Linked DNA regions of Homo sapiens: region 2 is linked to region 1. The links are contacts of gene promoters, found by promoter capture Hi-C in blood cells and fetal thymus (Javierre and others, 2016). All regions are on one chromosome and are shown on one strand. Each heading gives the region's core, a stretch centred on a gene start or on the middle of the fragment in contact. The rest is flanking DNA. Distances are from core to core; before and after follow the strand shown.

The links. Contacts are between HindIII fragments. The CHiCAGO score rates a contact against its expected background, and 5 or more counts as called.
Region 2: a contact is called between the fragment with the promoter of OR52K2 here and the fragment with the promoter of TRIM21 in region 1, in 6 of 17 cell types (monocytes, M0 macrophages, M2 macrophages and 3 more). The highest score is 9.3, in monocytes.

Annotation. Positions count from the first base shown.
Region 1 is chr11:4,391,910-4,395,320 of GRCh38, forward strand. It overlaps TRIM21 (tripartite motif containing 21), which reads right to left and starts at 1,793. Exons shown (of 7, transcript NM_003141.4): 1 at 1,724-1,793. RefSeq lists enhancers at 1,684-1,893, 1,914-1,973. The HindIII fragment of the contact is 6,932 bases long and covers 1-3,411 here.
Region 2 is chr11:4,447,506-4,450,916 of GRCh38, forward strand. OR52K2 (olfactory receptor family 52 subfamily K member 2) reads left to right here and starts at 1,790. Exons shown (of 1, transcript NM_001005172.2): 1 at 1,790-2,856. The coding sequence starts at 1,835. The coding sequence ends at 2,779. The HindIII fragment of the contact is 8,565 bases long and covers 1-3,411 here.

The sequences.
Region 1 (3,411 bases), core at 543-3,042:
GATGGTTACCAGAGGCTGGGAAGAGTAATAGGGAGGGTCTGTGTGTGGGGGAGAAGATGGGATGGTTAATGGGTACAAAAGTGGAGTGAATTAGATCTAGTATTTGATAGTACAACAGGGTGACTATAGTCAATAATTTAATTGTACATTAAAAATAAGAGTATAATTGCATAGTTTGTATTACAGATGATCAATGCTTGAGGTGATAGATGCCCCACTTACCCTGATGTGATTATTACACATTGTATACCTGTATCACAATATTCCATATACCCATAAATATACCTACTATGTGCCCACAAAAATTAAAAATATACTAAAAAAAGAAAAACAAAATGATGCAAAGGAAAATAAAAAATAAGAATAAAAATAATGGGTCAGGCACGGTGGCTCACACCTGTAATCCCAGCACTTTGGGAGGCCGAGGTGGGTGGATCACCTTAGGTCAGGAGTTCAAGACCAGCCTGACCAATATGGTAAAACCCTGTCTCTACTAAAAATACAAAAATTAGCTGGGAGTGGTGGTGGGCACCTGTAATCCCAGCTACTTGGGAGGCTGAGGCAGGAGAATTGCTTGAACCTGGGAGGCAGAGGTTGCAGTGAGCCAAGATTGTGCCATTGCACTCCAGCCTGGGTGACACGGCGAGACTCCCTCTCAAAAACAAAACAAAACAAAACAAGGCATAAAATTAATGGCAAAACAATTAATGTCAAAAACAGTAATTACTTTTGCACCGATCAAACAGTTTGTTGAATAAGTTTATTCCTGTTCTGAATAACAAGAACTCCTCCATTGTTTGGTCCATTGATCCAGTGAGACAGAAGGAGAAACTGAGTCCCTAAAAGAGGGAATGAAAATTGGCAAGAACCTCATAAAGCTGTTGACAGTTCTACTCTCATCATGTCCATTCCTGCTTAAACCCTCAGTGCTCATCCATCTCCTGTCGGGTACCAACAGGCCTCCATGTTGCTGAGAAATTATAGCTACTTTTTACCATGTACCTTCCATGTGCCAGAGATACTTCATGCTTTGAATATATCTTCATTAATCCCTCCTATAACGGCGGAAGTCAGTTGCATATATGTATGTAGGTGTATATGTATGTATACACACAGAGTAACAGGAACCGTGGCCAGCACTCCCTGGGCTCTTTTCTCAGCTGCTCCAAACTTAGTTTAGTTCCTGACAACACTTATTCTAGGACAAAGAATAATTCTGAAGGCCTATACATTTCTGGTTGAACATCCTAAACAGCCTGCCCCTCTCACCTCTGGAGGACTTTTGGACCTGGGAGTCTCCAGAATTGCAGACCTCCCCGACACTGGGCTCCCTACCCTCCTGGCTAGGCTGTAGTCCTGGCTATCCCAGCCACACCCAGCCGTCATCCTAGGTCAGGTGCCAGCATGGGGGCAGCCGGGCCCCTTCCCCTTCTGGGTAACTCCACAGTCACGTCCACAACCCAGCCTCCTCCCAGGTAGGGGGCAGCCGGGCCCCTTCCCCTTCTGGGTAACTCGGCAGTCAGGTCCACACCCCAGCCTCCTCCCAAGCAGGGGGCCAGCACCGGAAGCGCAGCTGGTCTTGGGTTGAGGGATCCCTGGTGGGAGAAGGGGCAAATGGGACCGGCTCAAGGATGGAGACTGGAAGGGGCTCTGCAACCCTGGGGCAGGGGAGAGAGGTCCCCTAGGAGGGCAGGGGTCCCTTGATCTAGTGGGGTTCACTCACCTTTACAGGGGACTCAACGCTGGTAGCCAGCTCCCTATTTCACTTTCAGTTTCCGCTCAGAAGCAAGTCTGAGAGGAAAGGGGAGGGAGGAGGAGGAGCCGTGGGAGGAGTGAGGGAGGAGCAGTGGGAGGAGCAGAGCCTTGAAAGGGTGTGTGGAGAAATGCGGCTGAGAAGAGAAGTCAGAGTTGAGCTGGGGGAGGCTTCAGAGGCTCTGCATGCCCAGGAGGCTTCTCTGAGACTGGGAAGGAGTGGAAACTCAGTAGCCCGTGGTCCTGGTTGCGCGCTCCCTCCCATGTCTTCATTATCTGATTTGGTAAAATATCTACAAGACGGGGGAGTCCGGGCTGCTTTCTTTGACACTGGTCATCACTCCACACCTAGACGCTATGTCCATGTCTGGAAGATGCTTTTAAGGAAGTTTTGATGCAGAGAAGAGTGGCCGGTGCTCTTCCTCGCGTGCCACCATCTGCTTACTTCCAGAAGCTAATTATTTTCATGTGACTGATGTGACTAATATTTTTTAACGCCTGCAGGTGAGTGATTTATTTCGCATGACCCCAAGGTGAGTGTCCCACCAGTGAGTGGTGAGAAGGAAATTGACATTTGACAACCAACTGTGTTCTTGTCACTGAGCTAGGGACATTCTCAGGTTATATTATTTTTATTTTTAATCGTAAAAATATAGAACATAAAATTTACCAAAGTAATTTTTTTAATTTTCAATCTTGTGTGTCTATAGTAGGTGTATATATTTGTGGGGTACATGAAATATTTTGATACAGGTAGAGCATACAATCCGTAATAATCATATCAGGGTAAGTGGGGTATCTATCCATCACCTCAAGCACTTATCATTTGTGTTATATACAATCCAGTTATATGCTTTTAGTTATTTTAAAATGATAAATTATCATTGACTGTATTCACCTTGTTATGCTATAAAATACTAGATCTTATTCATTCTCTCTCATGTATTTTTGAACCCATTAATCATTCCCCACTACCCTTCCCAGCCTTTGGTAACCATCATCCTCTCTATCTTCATGAGTTGGATTGTTTTAATTTTTAACTCCCACAAATAAGTGAGAACATAACAATTTGTTTGTTTGCCTGTGTTTGGTTTATTTTACTTAACATAATAATCCCCAATTCCATCCATCTTGTAGCAAATGAAAGGTTCTCCTTCTTTTTATGGCTGAATAGTGCTCCATTGTGTATGTGTACCACACTTTCCTTATCCATTTATCTGTTGATGGACACTTACGTTGCTTCCAAATCTTGGCTATTGTGAATAGTGCTGCGATAAACATGGGAGTGCAGATATCTCTTTGATATACTGATTTCCTTTCTCTTGGATATATACCTAACAGTATTTCTTCTGGGTATATACCTAGCAGTATCCAGTAGGATTGCTAGATTACATGGTAGCTCTATTTTCAGGTTTTTTTTTTTTTTTGAGGAACCTTCAAATTGTTTGCCATAGTGTTTGTACTAATTTCCATTCCCATTGACAGTGTATGAGGGTTCCCTTTTCTACATATCCTTGCCAGCATTTGTTATTGCCTTTCTTTTGGTTAAAAGACATTTTAACTGAGGTGAGATAATATCTCGTAGTTTTGATTTGCATTTCTCTGATGATCAGTGGTGTTGAACACATTTTCATATATCCATTTGCCACTTGTATGTCT
Region 2 (3,411 bases), core at 540-3,039, 56 kb after region 1:
TATGCTAGTTGGGAACTCAGAGTAGAAGCTAGACAGTTGAGCATTCCCTGAATATTGATTTCTCTTGGCATTTTTACCACCTAAGAGAGCACCTAGAGAAGTATGAGAATAAAAGGGCAACAAAAAGAGGAGAGAAAAGAAGAGAGAGAGAGGGGAATACACAAGCAATGATAAGATCATATAAGGGGAGTAGAGGAGATGGGAGCTAGATTGGAAGGAATTAAAAATTAAGAGATGAGGAATTAGATAATGAATTACTCAACTTTTTCAACAAACATTGTTGTGAAGGAAAACAGTTGCGGGTGTTAGATGGAGGGAGATATAAGGCCAAGGAATGCGGGATTGTGCTGATGTCAAGAAAAACATTTTAAAAAAGGGGGCAGATTTGTGTGGGAGGGGGAATATTGTAATGACAAATAACAGTTTTACAATGCTTTACAGTTTACAGGGACTCTTCTCATGATTTTATCTTTCCTCATCATGAAGCAGTAAAATTGTCATGGAAGATATGGTTATGCCTTCATCTATAGGTGAGGAACCTAAATCTTTAAAAATTTCAGTGATTAATACTAGTTTCTATTGGTAGGCTGATGGCTCAATCATTACTTAAACCCAAGTCTTTAGATTCTAATTTTTTTTCCTATATCATGATAATGAGTTTGAGTTATATTTCTGTTAACTTGAATATGCTGGATTTATACTTCTTAGGAAGCAATGAGGTAGAAGCAGAAGAGTGTAGTGATTTAAGACATTGGATTGGGAGGCAGCAAACCAGAGTTCTCGAAGCTCAAGTTTCATCTTTGACGTTTTCCAACTGTTCTGATTGTTAGTGACTTAGTCTTTTGTTTTCTCAATTCATAAGTGTCCACGTTTACTGAGCACTGTTTCAAGATTTGTGCTAAGTGTTTTAAAAGATCTCAAAATCCCCAAAAGAAAGTTTTTAGGCAGGAGCTGAAAAAAAAGGTGGCACAGGTCAAAAATATTGCAAGGAAATGTTTAAACGTTTTCAAGGGAAATGACAACAGAAGGTGGAAAAAGATAGAATGATAAGGATCCCAGATGGAAAAATAGTGTGAAGGGAATAGGTCAGTCTTGCAAAAAGGTAAGTGTGGGGCATCTCTTCTTCTGAATGTCATGAAGTCCAGGAAGGAAGAAGCACGTAGAGATGAAGGTTAAACTACAGTTAGGCAAAAGAGAACAACAAAAGGGCTTCTCATGTTCTCAAGTTACCTGGAGGTAGGGCTTTAGTTGGAGGGATTTCTGAGTGTCAAACAAGGACCTACGAAACCCTGCTAGAAAAAAAATCTAAAGAACTTGTAGGGAAGTGAATTATTAGAAAGTGCTAACTACATTTATTTTTCATATGACCAAGATTGACATTTCAGGGCAGAAACTCTTTCATAATTGGGAGTGTAGTTTGAATTGGAAGGCAATAGGAAGACAGTGACGGTAAATGTTTGTGGGTATGATTTGAATTAAGCAGCAATCTGTATTATTTACAAAGTTGCTTTTGGCCACATGCAGGCCACAAAAGGCTCTTCCTCCACTTGATTTCTCAATAAGGCTGCTTTGTAATACTAGCTTTATTGGAATTAAATGTCCTGAGCACCCAGTGTTTTTATAAACAGCTTAAGGGCAAGGATCATGCATAATATTTCATGATACATATGATTATTTTCTCATTTCTTTTCATGTCTAAAAATGGGTCTAAGAACTAATCTTCTCACAAGAATGATCAGAGTTTGAATGTGAGCATTGTAATTCTGCTGATATTGAATATTCTCTGGAAGGGCCCTGTGGAAGCAGATAAGGAGGAAGAGAATTCCCAGGAGCCATGTCAGCCTCCAATATCACCTTAACACATCCAACTGCCTTCTTGTTGGTGGGGATTCCAGGCCTGGAACACCTGCACATCTGGATCTCCATCCCTTTCTGCTTAGCATATACACTGGCCCTGCTTGGAAACTGCACTCTCCTTCTCATCATCCAGGCTGATGCAGCCCTCCATGAACCCATGTACCTCTTTCTGGCCATGTTGGCAGCCATCGACCTGGTCCTTTCCTCCTCAGCACTGCCCAAAATGCTTGCCATATTCTGGTTCAGGGATCGGGAGATAAACTTCTTTGCCTGTCTGGCCCAGATGTTCTTCCTTCACTCCTTCTCCATCATGGAGTCAGCAGTGCTGCTGGCCATGGCCTTTGACCGCTATGTGGCTATCTGCAAGCCACTGCACTACACCAAGGTCCTGACTGGGTCCCTCATCACCAAGATTGGCATGGCTGCTGTGGCCCGGGCTGTGACACTAATGACTCCACTCCCCTTCCTGCTGAGATGTTTCCACTACTGCCGAGGCCCAGTGATCGCTCACTGCTACTGTGAACACATGGCTGTGGTGAGGCTGGCGTGTGGGGACACTAGCTTCAACAATATCTATGGCATCGCTGTGGCCATGTTTATTGTGGTGTTGGACCTGCTCCTTGTTATCCTGTCTTATATCTTTATTCTTCAGGCAGTTCTACTGCTTGCCTCTCAGGAGGCCCGCTACAAGGCATTTGGGACATGTGTCTCTCATATAGGTGCCATCTTAGCCTTCTACACAACTGTGGTCATCTCTTCAGTCATGCACCGTGTAGCCCGCCATGCTGCCCCTCATGTCCACATCCTCCTTGCCAATTTCTATCTGCTCTTCCCACCCATGGTCAATCCCATAATCTATGGTGTCAAGACCAAGCAAATCCGTGAGAGCATCTTGGGAGTATTCCCAAGAAAGGATATGTAGAGGGTGAGGTGGAGAAAGAATGGGTTGGCTTGTCTGCTGGAGTTGGAGACAGGCTATGGTAGAATGTGCACGGCTGCCAGGATCTTCATGTTTAGTTTTTTCTTGGAAAAAAAAAAAATGATGTCCTGAAACTCAGAGCCACCAGTCTGTTCAGGACTCATGGGTCTGTGTCCTCTGGTAGCCTGTGGATTGAATGTGCTGACTGTGCTGTCTTCTCACAGTGCCCTCACCCCTATCAGTAACTTGACAGAGACTTGACCCATGGGTCTCCAGGTGACTTCACCGAAAGACACAAAGATGCTTCCAACTTCATTTGCTGAAGAGAAGACTTTGAAAATCTGAGTTTCTTTTCTTAGTCATTGGGAATTTGGTGAACTATCTACTCAGGACCTGGGTGAGGGCCAACAGTATATCTGACATAGGAATCCTTCATTCATTCTGACTGGTGGTGTCCAGCTTCTGATGAAACACTCAGTGTTAGGAAGTTTGAAACATTCCAGGGCTGCAGGTTCTGAGTAAGACACCTATGCTTGCTAGAAAATCATTTTTTCACCTAAGCCAGTATGTGTATTCTTTTGCTTATATTTACCAATCCATCCTTATGTCCAATTCCTTTTATTAAGTACTTTGAA